2 separate regions of the Homo sapiens genome follow, and region 2 is linked to region 1. The links are contacts of gene promoters, found by promoter capture Hi-C in blood cells and fetal thymus (Javierre and others, 2016). All regions are on one chromosome and are shown on one strand. The core of a region is centred on a gene start or on the middle of the fragment in contact, and the rest is flanking DNA. Distances in the headings are between cores, read along the strand shown. Region 1 holds the start of ADPGK-AS1 (ADPGK antisense RNA 1). Region 2 has its middle 16 kb from the start of NEO1.

Evidence for each region. The method cuts DNA at HindIII sites, captures the fragments that hold promoters and counts their contacts. A CHiCAGO score of 5 or more calls a contact.
Region 2: a contact is called between a fragment that was not itself captured here and the fragment with the promoter of ADPGK-AS1 in region 1, in 3 of 17 cell types (total CD4 T cells, naive CD4 T cells and non-activated CD4 T cells). The highest score is 5.9, in total CD4 T cells.

What each region holds. Positions count from the first base shown.
Region 1 is chr15:72,778,995-72,785,571 of GRCh38, reverse strand. ADPGK-AS1 (ADPGK antisense RNA 1) reads right to left here and starts at 2,737. Exons shown (of 3, transcript NR_040107.1): 1 at 376-2,737. ADPGK (ADP dependent glucokinase) reads left to right here and starts at 1,814. Exons shown (of 7, transcript NM_001365225.1): 1 at 1,814-2,113. The coding sequence starts at 1,881. RefSeq lists enhancers at 1,289-1,498, 1,549-1,608, 2,369-2,438 and a silencer at 1,659-2,118. The HindIII fragment of the contact is 5,666 bases long and covers 43-5,708 here.
Region 2 is chr15:73,032,893-73,039,469 of GRCh38, reverse strand. No RefSeq gene overlaps it. Among named protein-coding and RNA genes, the nearest start is that of NEO1, 16 kb to the left of the region's middle. The HindIII fragment of the contact is 1,729 bases long and covers 1,721-3,449 here.

The DNA of each region.
Region 1 (6,577 bases), core at 1,488-3,987:
AGGCCCACAGCAGGTCCCATAGCAACCAGAGGGGGCCAAGCTTGCTACCACAGCCCACAACATGCCAACACCCCATTTAGACTTTTACATGAGAAATAAACATCCACTTTGTTCAACTGCTGTTGTTTTGTCTCTGTGACTAAATCAACAATTCTGGCAAATCTAGAAAGAAGCAGAAGAATTAGGTGCAAAGTGCTGGAAGTTTAGCAGCCTCTCGTGGGAGCAAGAAAGCCCCAGGCAGGTTTCTGTCCACATCACTTTAATGTGGAGCACTCTCCTAGTCCTCTAGATCTGTCTGTTCTATCACCTTCCCACAGTTCAGCTTCCTGTGCTCCCCAAAACTTCACCTTGGAAACATATTTAACTGGTTCTGACCTTTAGCCTTGTGTGACTTTGTGGGTCCACAGCCAATATCAAATAACTACAGACAACAGAAACTTGGTTAAAATTCTCAATAGAGGGAAATGATCGCTGGACAGTCAGCAGACTCGCTGTTTTCAGGTCAGCTGCTGGCTCAGTCCCCTCTGGGTGCCAGGGAAACCTGACAGCTGAGGGTTGTGAGAAGAAGCAGTTTCTCTAGGAACTGACTGACATGTCTCCCTAAGGAGAGAGAAGTGACAGGCAACTCTAGGGAAGATGGCTTTCATGGCTTCATAAAGATCTGACTGGCTCTTTGGCTTCTTTTCCAAGGTAGCCCAAATCTGTTCCTGTGTGAATATCTTTGTCGAAAGGGATGGCATGGTCAGGTAGGCTGGGTAGGATGAACTGCGGGAAGGTAGATGACCAGGATGGGGAAGTTCTGATGAGGTGGGGCTGAGGAGAATGAAGACTAATGCCCAAGATCAAAGTTAGGGAAATAAAGTTTCGCTGCCAAGTCCAAAGGTCAGGGTCACAGTGGAAAACTGGACACAAAGCCAAGGTCAGGAGCCGAGAGAATTGGAAAAGTGGAAACAAACCAGGGAACAAGACTAGGCCGGGCATTGTGGCTGATGAGAATGAGCTGGTACCCAGCCTAGCTTCACTGTCTCTCAACCTAGCCTCATGCACAGAAAAGTATCAGCGAAGAGAGGGCTGGGTTTAAGTGATGTCACCAAGGGGGAACAAAAGAAAGCAGCGTTTCTCAACCCAGGTCCATAACTCTCGTGTTGTGCACAAGATTGTGTACATTTTCCAGAGTTTGTTAAAGGGAACAGCGCCCCCAAAAGGGTTAAAGTTTGATTGTGGAATAATCTGGTTATCCAGAAGAGAACGATCTCTGCGGGCTCTCCTGTCTCGACGAAGTCCTTTAGTGGCTGAGGGTCTCGGCCACCTTCCAAAGGGGCGGAATCCCCCTGCCTCGCGTACCCCAGGGGTCTCGGCAGCGCCGCTATTCTGTGAGCCTATTCCTCTCAGAAGCGCCGAGCACTAGGCCTGGAAGAGGACAAGTCTAGCAAATGAGGGGACACGGGCGGAGGGAGGGATTAAAAGATGGGGGTGTGATCCGTGCCAATGGGGACACCCACTGGTTCGAATATTAACGCGAGGTTTGTCCGCTTCTTCACAATCTGTCCGTTTCGTTTTACTGCGAAAGCAAATGTGTTCCCATCCCTCTATTTGGGGATACGATTAGAGTTCCGGGAAGGGGGTGCAGCGCCCGGACTGGCACAACCGCCGTTGTCCCACCTCCTCCGGGGCGGCAACACCGCAGTGCCAGGCCTGGGACTGAGGCGTGGGGTCCCCCCTCGCTCCGTCCTGGCGCCGCCCGTCGCCCCGCCCCTTGGGGGGCCCCGTGGCGCACCCTTGTGACGTAGCGCTTGTGTCGACATCGGCGCGCGCCGAGCCCGGAAGAGGCGCGGGCTAGGAAAGGAGTTGGTTCGCGCAGGTGCGGCGCCTGGGTCCCCATGGCGCTGTGGCGCGGCTCCGCGTACGCGGGCTTCCTGGCGCTGGCCGTGGGCTGCGTCTTCCTGCTGGAGCCAGAGCTGCCAGGCTCGGCGCTGCGCTCTCTCTGGAGCTCGCTGTGTCTGGGGCCCGCGCCTGCGCCCCCGGGACCCGTCTCCCCCGAGGGCCGGTTGGCGGCAGCCTGGGACGCGCTTATCGTGCGGCCAGTCCGGCGCTGGCGCCGCGTGGCAGTGGGGTGAGTGCCAACGGGGCCTGGGTCTCTGAGCCTCCGAGGTCGGCCTTGGAGGTCGGGCGGAGCCGCGCAGAAACAGGGCTTCTCAGAGGTCCCCGGGAGGCGCTGCTGTCCGCGCTGGCCCCTTGGCGAGAAGTGTCGGACGTCTGAGTGGAACCCGGTTCGTCACCGCTGCTCTTTCCACTCGGCTGGCCTCTGCGCCTTTCTCTCATCCCGGTAGGACCAGCCCTAACAGCTTCTTGCTAATCCCGCTTTGTCTGACACCTTTCTCCGAGCCTTCTTCCTCGTTCCAACTTTTAGCCCCTTCTCTTCTGGCGACTGTTGTTTTGCAATCAAAGATACTTGACCTTACCCACTATGACAACACTCTTCCTCTTTCTTCTGAACTTCTTGAAGACGCGTGATGTCTGCCTTTACCCACTTTCGAAACGCCGTGTAGTCTAGAAACCACACGACTGTACTGCAACTCCTCTCAGATTTGCCTTTTTGAATCTTCATTATCTACTCTGCAGCCTTCCACGCATTGAACACGCCCTTCTCCGTGAAATTCTTTTCTTCCCCTGACTTCAGTGACACTGCATATTTAAGGTTCTTCCAAATGACACTACCTCCTTTCTTTGTACTTTTCCTTGGGAATGTAATTATTTTCTTTATAGTATTGATACTGTAAACACTAACTTTAGTCCCTGTCTCAGTTCGATTTGACTTTCTTGCCGTAATCTCAGAGTTATGTATAACCACCACATAAAAGCAGGCCCTCTACCATGTAGCTCACTACTTTCTGTGGAGTGTTGGGGCCGGGAGGGGTAAAGTAGAGCAAACTTGGCCTGAAGATTAAATGACATCATTCATGTAATCTCTCTAGCATAGTGCCTGCTTTAAAAAGCATTCGATATTAGCTATAATTTTGGGGTTTTTTTTTTTTTTTTTTTTTGGACACAGGGTCTCTCTCTCTGTCGCCTAGGCTGGAGTGCAGTGGTGCAATCACTGCTCACTGCAGCCTCGAACTCCCGAGCTCAAGAGATCCTTCTGCCTCAGCCTCTGGAGTAGCTGGGACGACAGGCAAGCACCACCACGCCCAGCCAATTTTTTATTTATTTTATTTTTTTTAGTAGAGTCGAGGTCTTGCTATATTGCCCAGGCTGGTCTCGAACTCCTGAGCTCAAGCCAGCCTCCCATCTTGGCCTCCCAAAGTGCTGGGATTAAATTGTCCTTCCTTGCTTTATGCGCGTTCATTCAGCAGATATTCACCAACTACATGGTTAGTGTCAGGTCTGTGCTAGGTTCTTAAGATACAGAGATGGGTGAAGCAAGGCCCCTGTCTCACTTGTTGGAAACATATTATTGTATCAGTCATTTGGGCTGCTAGAACAGAATACCACAAATTAGGTGGATTAAACAACAAATCTGTTTTCTCGTGGATCTGGAGGCTGATAGTCCAAGATCAAGGTGTTGGCAGGATTGGCTTCCGATGTGGCCTCTCTTCCTAGCTTGCAGCCAGCTGGCTTTTCAGTTAGTCTGCGCATGTACACTCCTGGTGCCTCTTATTCTTCTTATGTGGACACTAGGTCCTTTTGGAATAGGGCTCACCCGTATGACCTTATTTAACCTTAACTACTTCCTTAAAGGCCCTACGTCCAAATATAGTCACATTGGGAATTAGGGTTTCAGCATATGAATTGGTGGGGGGTGGACAATTCAATCCATAACAATTATGGTTAGAAGAGGAACAACCCACGAGGACCAGGCAGAAGCCTTAATGCCTTTTACGACCTTACCTTAGAAGCACATAGGAACTCTTCTACCAGAGTCACAGGTCCACCTGGTTTTAAGGGAGGGGACATAGAACAAACCTTGATGGGAGGAGCATCAGTGTCACATTGTGAAAAGAACATTTGGAATGGGGCATCTTATTGCCACCATCTTGGAAAATATATTTTACTACAGTGACTTTCATAGGACAGACACTAAATAAATGAGATTTCTTCAAGCCAAAGTGGGAACAGGTCCACCTAGGCAAGAGAACCAAATGTGAAAAAGTACATGGTTTGTTTGGGAACAGGTCGGCCTTGTTTTGGAGCGAGAATCCTATGGTAGAGGGTTGTAAAGAGATGATGCTGAGAACGAAGGGTTGGACCAGATTGTGAAGGGCCTTTTATGGGGAAGCCATAAAGGTTTGTAAGTAGTTAACTGATGACAAGTTCTTTGTTGAGAATTGGTGGGAATGTGAAGGGTGGATTTTGAGCAGTGGTTCTAAACTGTTTCACTGCTTCTCATCATTTATTACCCAAAGAGGATTTTTAGCCCAAAGATAGGGGGATATAGGAGGGATGAGGGGGAGCAGGTGTAGTACTTGTATCAGAATCTCATTTTGAGGTTGTAGTTTGACTTCTCTAGAGACACACTCGTATTCACACTCTCTGTCACACAGACACACTCAAAATGCCATTTAATGTGATTCATAAGGAGGAATATCTTGACATCCTGACACTGGTTTAAGAGGCCATTGTAGGGTTTGTGTAAAGGGAGAAAGGAGCCCGAACCAAACTCGGCAATGATGTAGAAGAGGTGAGATTTGAGAGATAACCTGAATAATAGTTTGGATGTGGTGGAGTAAAGAAAGGCAGTCAAAAACGACAGGTTTTTAATATTGGATATCTTGTTTAGTTTTTGTTTTCTGTTTGAGACAGCATCTCACTCTGTCACCCAGGCTGGCGTGTGCAGTGGCATGTTCAAGCTCACTGTGGCCTTGACCTGTCATGCTCAGTGTCCCGAGTAGCTGGAACTACAGGCATGTACCACCACACCCGGCTAATTTTTATATTCTTGGTAGGGACAGGATTTGCCAAGTTGCTCAGGCTGGTCTTCAACTACTGGGATCAGGCCTTGGCCTCCCATCTTGGCCTCTGAAAGTGCTGGAATTACAGCTGTGATTCCACACCCAGCCCAGTATTAAATATCTTATAACAACTAATATGGTTAGGCTTTGTGTCCCCACTCAAATCTCATCTTGAATTGTAATCCCCATAAGCTAATCAAGGGAGAGACCAGGTGGAGGTAATTGAATCATGGGGGCGGTTCCCCCATTCTGTTCTCCTGATAGTGAGTTCGTTCTCATGAGATCCTTTGGTTTTATAAGGGGCTCTTCCCTGCTATTCACTCGGCACGGCTCCTTCCTGACACCTTAAGAAGAAGGTGCCTTGCTTCCCCTTCACCTTCCACCATGAATGTAAGTTTCCTGAGGCCTTCCCAGCCATGCTGAACTGTAAGTCAATTAAACCTCTTTCCTTTATAAATTACCCAGTCCCGGGCAATTCATTATAGCATTATGAAAATTGACTAATGCAACAACTTTATGAGGGAGGCAGATAACAGATATTGTCACCGAGTCTTCTCACATTGATTTATTTGCCCAAGATCTTGTAGCTATCAAGTGCCAGAGGAGCAATTGAAGCCTGGTCTTTCCCATTTCTGGTTCCTTGTTGATGCCATGTTGTTGCCATTAAGAGAGATTTAAGAAAAACAAGTTTCAGAAGATAAATTGGATTTCAGAGGAGGAGAAATGTACATACATTGTTATGGGATTTCAGATGAAGCTTCTCTGTCAGCTACTGAAAATGAGAAGCTGGTTTTTAGGAATATATTGAGAAACAGGATTGCAAATTTTGGAGACACTGGCACTTAGGTTGAAGCCAGAGACTGGATAGGATCACCCAGGAAGAGAAGAGGAGAAGGTAAAAATGGTAAAGGTGGAATTCTGGGAGGCACTAGCCCTTAAATGCTAGTGCATTAAGGGGCTGGTGAAAAGGGGTCAAAGAAGTAAAGGATAGGAGGAGTTTTAAGGCGTTTCTAGGAAACTTCCCCTGCTTCTAAATCAGACTCTGGTACCTATTCATTGGTTTAAAAATGATGAAACCCGGCAGGCATGGTGGCTCACGCCTGTAATCCCAGCACTTTGGGAGGCTGAGGTGGGTGGATCACCTGAGGTCAGGAGTTCGAGACCAGCTTGACCAACATGGAGAAACCCCATCTCTACTAAAAATAAAAAAATTAGGCGTGGTGATGCATTTCTGTAATCCCAGCTTCTCAGGAGGCTGAGGCAGGAGAATCGCTTCAACCCAGGAGGCAGAGGTTGCGGTGAGCCGAGATCGCGCCGTTGCATTCCAGCCTGGGCAACAAGAGTGAGACTCTATCTCAAAAAAAAAAAAAAAAAAAAACCCTCATGCTAATATTTATTGCCCCTGGAACTGGCTTCACCCTGAACCTTGAAACATATCTTGGTCTTCTCCCCTGTATGAATTCTCCATTCTAGCTAGATAATTCTTTATTGTATCCAAACACAAGGTTAATCCCTTCATGTACAACTTTGCTTGTGTATACTTCCTACGTGGGTTTCAGTATCATCAGATAAATCTGGGTTTGAATTTCAGCTCTGCCTGTCTGTGGGCTTTGGAATGTTAGTTAATC
Region 2 (6,577 bases), core at 1,336-3,835, 250 kb before region 1:
TTTGTAGAACTTATTAACATCTTTTTATTTTGAAATATACTTATCAAAATAAAATTACTCTCTTTAATAAATGGCTTTGGCTTTGGATTTGACTTTATGTTTATTTGTGCCTAAATATATCTTTGCTTTTCTGTTATTTAAGAATTGTTTTGCTTTTTGTTTTAGCTATGTATAATGGACACCTGAGGGTGTGCCTGTCATTCATTCCTCCTCCAACCACGTGGTTGCCACTAGAGCTACCACATTATTACAGTACGACCTTCATCTCTTGGCCACAGTTAATTGAGCTTGGTGCAGACATCTGACCCAAGCTTGGCTAATCACACTACCCTGATCCACTGTCTGTAGTTGACTGGTTCATTTATGGGTAACGACCTAAATCAAACCCATAATACTTTCACTTGAAGTACTGAGAGAGTGAGACCAGTAGTTTAAGGTCTAAAATTTAAAACCCAGGAAATGTCTGAGGCCATGTTTTTCAACATGTGGAGAAAACGAGTGTCCAACAAAAGATAATGAAGCTGACATACAGAATCTTAGCCGTGATGAATGAGACAACATTTGAATGTCATTAACATCCCAGTTTCTGGTGTTCCTGACGGCCAGCTGGATCTCTGCACCTATAGTACATTCAACTACACTTTCAATTTTGTGAAACTCCTCAGTCTTGGTCCAATGAACCCTCCCCTTTTTTGTAACCAGCTTAGATTTACCCTTGAGACGGGAATGCCAGGCAGATTGCTTTCTAATTCCTGGAGGTGATAAATAATTAATTTGTATGTTACACTGGTCAGATCAGTTCAGCAGGGAGTTAAGAGAGGGAAGGATATAATACAGTGGTTTAGGTTATCTTGGTCCCGTTCTCTTCACCCCTCACCTAGATGATGCAAGCCACCCTTCCCCAACTGGATTGAGGTCCTAAGTAGCCCCAGTTACAATGTGACTACACTTTCTCAAAGTACGTGTCTGAGCAGCAGAAAGTTAGTTTTGTGGCCTCTGGATGAAGTGAGGGGGAAAAGAGACCAGATTGATAGGCTTTGACAATAACATTCTCCTTTTCTAAAACATGCCCTGCAGTGCTGTCTTCAGGGCTGTCAGCGTGTACATTTTGCCACTAAAGACAGTGAAAGAAGTAAAAGGATCACTTCAGGGAACTGACATTCCAAAAGGAACATCCATCCTGTCACCTCCCAGCACTCTCCGGGAACTGATGGTCAAAATCAGAGTTCCCAGGCATGTGACATTGAGGGGCACTGATCCCAGATGAAGACAGTGTCAAAGATCATCACGTTTCCCTGACTGCTATGCCGCCAAGAATGTCAAGATCTGTACGTCTGCTTTCAGGACATGGATTTACCATTTTGGATAGTTTTTAGTCTCTTACTGACACCTTAGAAATCAAATTACTCTGCTAGTGCCAGAGGCCTTAGCTCACTGATGGAGCTACTAAATCAAGACTAATTGAGCTAACAAATATGCTTGAATAGTGCTTCCTTGAGAAAATGCAACCTTCAGAAGACTTGACATTTACTTCTGACTTGGCCAGACTTATTGACAATTTTCTGAGACTGCTTTTGATTTATATTGATTGAAAGAAATACGGAATGAATTTTAAGATTTCAAATAAACCTTTTCCCTGATTCAAACACCAATAGAAACACTAAATGGAAATTTATAAGTAGAACATGAGTCTAACCCAAGTCAGTAACAATTGAAAGCTTTTATTGCCTGACAGCAGCTTTCAGACCTATAGGAAATGGTTGGAGGGGTTTGGTGCCGTTCATAATGGGCCAAGTGTCAAGGTCACAGATGCCTTCCAGAAATTATTACAGTTGTTTGGCTACTGTGTTGGCAGTATCAGCAGGACAACTAAGAAGTAGAATGTTACCAACAGCACACATTTCTTTCTTAGTCCTAGATGTGGTGCTTTGAAGACAGAAATGAAGTTGAGGAAAAATAACTTTTACTGTTTCTGCCAACTTGACATAACTTCAAAACTGTCAGTTTAGCTATTTTAATCACAATGAAACAAATATTAAGGAAAAAATTAGAATGTGCTTTTAATAAGTGGATTGTAACTTTTTGTCTTGATGTTTTCAGGGTTTTTTGTTTGTTTGTTGTCTGTTTTGAGACAGGATCTCACTCTGTTGCCCAGGCTGGAGTGCAGTGGCACAATCACAACTCATTGCAGCCTCTACCTCCCAGGGTCAAGTGATCTTCCCACCTCAGCTTCTTAAGTATCTAGGACTACAGGTGCGTGCTACCATGCCCCACTAATTTTTTACTTTTTGTAGAGATGAGGTCTCTCCATGTTGCCCAGCCTGGTCTCAAGCTCCTGGGCTCAAGCGATTCTCCTGCCCCGGCCTCCCAAAGTGCTAGGATTACAGGCCCGAGCCACCACACCCAGCCAGATTGTAAAGTTAATGGCAAGAAGGAAATATTTTAACATAATGCAATGTGATACAATACAACAAATCCACCAGAACTGTGTAACAGCCCAGAGAGAGAAGAAATTTTCCTGAAGACTGACAGGCAGCATGCTGATATGCTAAACAGACTGATATTTTAATCAATGCCCTAAAATAAGGACACTAAAATAAGCTCAAAAGATATTGAGATTTTCTTTTAAATGAATTATTCATAGGCCAAATAGCAAATTAAAAATAACATTATTGGCCAAAAACTCTGAAAGAAAAAGTAACCACGGTTAGTACAGTCAGCTGTAACTCAGAAGAACTGGACTCTTCTTTTTTGTTACTAGCTTTATCACTCACTCACTAGTTTCTTTCATAGTTTATCCAAAAACTCCTGTGTCTATATACATCGGATGACAGAGATACTTTATCAACTATGAATAATGATATGGAGCTAATCAACATGGAAAATAACCTGTGAACCACACGATTCATTTTTCTTCTTCTGACTTTGATAGAATAAGAGAACATGATTATCTTCTAGGAGGTCAGCTCTGAATATCCCCAGCTTCCTTGTTTAGCTTTTATAAACTATGAATTTTCCTATGCCCCAAGAGAGTAATTCTCCTGAAGCACAGCTTGAAGAGGCAGCGTGGTTAGATTAGGAGGGAAAAACCTTGTAATTGGAGTTTGGATTCCAGATCTACCCTGGTTGAGCTTATTTATTACTACTTCATTCGTTTCCAATGTAGATAGACTCTGAGTAGCATCGAGGCACAAGGGGCAGCTCCATTGGGTTACAGGTAGAGCTGAGCTACTGATTCCCTCAAGCCTTGCACTGGTTGAGTGGGGCCTGGGATAGCTGGAGTCCCCAGGCCTCTTGGCCACAAGCAGACTCCATACTATGCTTGACCCCTAATATACTATTAAAAATAATATTAGTTTCTATGAGATCCGTGATATTGCAAACACTAAGTTGTCTCACATTGGCATTTCCCAGTCTGGAAATACAAAGGCTGAAATAGGATCAAAGCTTTAAAAAGCCTGGTGAACACAGTGACAACTTGCCCCTTTGGGTTTTCTATACTTTTCTCACTTTCCTCCTCTATGCATCATAGTTTTCCTCATTGCCATCACAGAAATTATTCTAAACACATGCCCTCCTGAAATCCCACCAGTGTTGCCTATTGTCTACAGAGAAATGTCTAAACATGGCCTATGAGGTTTGACTTTCTCTAGCTTGCACCTATTTCTCTGGGCTCATCTCTTATCACTGCCACTCAAACCCCCGCAGCAATATCACACGGCTTCTAGCTCCTTGGATACCCTGTGCTTTGTCATGCCTCCATGCTTTGCTCAAGCTGTGCCTTCTGATTAGAATGCACATGCCTGGTAAATTGCAATCTTTCTTTCATATTTCAACTGCTCCCTCCTTTTTGATTACCTGTCCACCTTGAACATACTTCTGTGATTTCACTTATTGAGGTATTATGATTTGCAAGTCTGACTCCCCCACCAGGACGGGGACCATGCCTTATTTGTCTCAGTAACTCTGAGGGCTGGCACCATAGGCAGTGGTATAATGTTTGCTGGGCAGATGGACACACTGACAGATGGTTGAATGGATGGATGAATTCAAGTTAATGTGGTCTTGTTCACCAAATCTCAAAACTCTGGCACAAGAGCTTTGTGAATAAAAAGATGTACGATTTTACATAATGCACACTTGTTTGGTACTTGGCATGCCACAATTTATCCTTTTATGTTAATCTCCTGTTTCTCCAAGAATATCATAAATTATCAGTACCAGTGAGGTATGCTATAGTTGGTGCAAGACTTGATTCTTCTCAGACTTTGTATTGCAAATATCTGGTCTCTAAAACAAGTCCAGCCACCTATCGCACCAGGGTTCTTCTTGGGAACAGCATTTTAAAAATAGGTGGCTGGTTATAACTGTGTGGAGATTAAGAATTGTTAGCAAGGCCAAAGGACTGCCCTCCTCTAATTTCTGGGGCATTCATATGAATTAGTAAGAACTTTCTCTTATCTTTACTTCTGAATGCAGAGTTTGGCTGAGCACAGTAAATAGAGGGACACTCAAATGGCTCAGTTTCCTCCCTAATTCAAAGCCTCATCTCTGGATAAAATAATGGAGTTTAATTTAAGTATTTAGATTTTTTAAAGTGATTGCCAAAAGAAAAGTGGTTGTTACACAAAAGAAAATTATCAGAACAAAACAGCCTTCTCAAACTGAGCCAGACTTCTCTTTCTTCTTTATTCTTTTCCTCCCAACACCGGGATACAAGAACTATGGTAATTATTGATAGTCTTTTTCTACTGCCATTCTTTCCATCTAAATCAGAGGCACAAAATCATAGAAATACAATTAGCTAGTGAAACAAAGCCATGTGACACCCTCATAAGGAAGCCCTCAGCTTTTTAGCCCTCATCAACTCAGCCCTTGCAATGTCATGTTTTGGGAAATATGGGACTCTTCTAAGCCTATGGGGTTCTTGCTTTCAGGAGGCTTTTTTTTTTTTTTTTTTCTGCATAACTAGAGGAGTGTCTTTTTGAGTTTGGACTTTCTAACCTTGAGAAGGAGTTGACGTGCTTCTTCACTGAGTGTGAAATGAGCAGATGGTGTTGTTTCACTCCAATTTGTTTTGCATGGACTGAGGAGAAGGCTGTGGGGGAAGGGATAAATGTGTTCTATTCCTGACTGCTAAACACAACTTATTGGCACATAAAAGCCACTTCACTAACATTGGATCATCTACTTATTAATAAAGACTGGAGCTTCACTTATTCTACTTCAAGCTAGAAGTTAATATCACCATATTTTTCTCTTTGTCCAGAAGGAACTATATTCTCATTACAGCACAAAACAACGTATTTAGACTGTTTGCCCAAGCTGATAATTGAAGGAGTCTGTAGTGGGCCCTTAAGTCACCCAACACACACTCTTTTTTTAAAAGCCAGTTGCCCCTGTGCAGGCAGGTTCACCACATTTTTAGCTCTACATTCAGCTCACCTACACCCAACTCCATACCCCAAAGATGTTCCTGGGGAACCAAGATAAGAGCCTAACTATTCTCATGGAAAAGTTGCTAAATTCCCAGTGATCACCCAGCTAGCTCTCTATCTATACTGCTAGGGGAAATATGGGCTGGAAAAGCGGTCACAAGATTTCACCTTCCACCTTATGCTAGGAAGTATGCGGAACTTCTACCAGGTAAGCAGGTGGAGACCTTTGTTCAATCTTATCCAGGGAAGGAGGCACCCAGGGCTAAGAGGGGGCTATCTGATCTGTCAGCAGTCAGCTGAAGGTGGTGTGTGCTCGGTTTCTACCACACAACACCTTCATGCAGCTACAGCACCTTTTTATTTTTATTTTTTTTGAGACGGAGGCTTGCTCTGTCGCCCAGACTGGAGTGCAGTGGTGCTATCTCGGCTCACTGCAACCTCTGCCTCCTGGGTTCAAGCTGTTCTCATGCCTCAGCCTTCCAAGTAGCTGGGATTACAGGTGCCCACCACCACACCTGGTTAATTTTTGTATTTTTAGTAGAGACGGGGTTTTGCCATGTCGAGCAGGCTGGTCTCAAACTCCTGACCTCAAGTGATCCTCCCACCTCGACCTTCCAAAGCGCTGGGATTATAGGCGTGAGCCACCGCACCCGGCCTACAGCACCTTTTTATGTCCCACCTTTTCATCCACTGGCACAAAAGCATCAGTAATTAAGATGGAATTTGCTGAAGATTTCTTTGGGGAGAGGGGAGGAATGGAGGAGAGAGTTAACATCCATACCACAGGGAAACACCCTCAGACATCATCATCTAGATGAGTATTGTGTCTCTCTCTTTAGCAGTTCTCCACTATGTTTCATCCACACTGCTCTAACCAGCTTGGCCCCCAAATTTCTAGAGTCCCCTCAGTAAAAGCTTTGTGGTTATTTAGTAGTAGTAGTAGTAGTAGTAGTAGTAGTAGTAGTAGTAGTAGTAGTAGTACTTTAAGACGGAGTCTCGCTCTGTCGCCCAGGCTGGAGTGCAGTGGCGCCATCTCCGCTCACTGCAAGCTCCGCCTCCCGGGTTCACGCCATTCTCCTGCTTCAGCCTCCCGAGTGGCTGGGACTACAGGCGCCCACCACCACACCTGGCTAATTTTT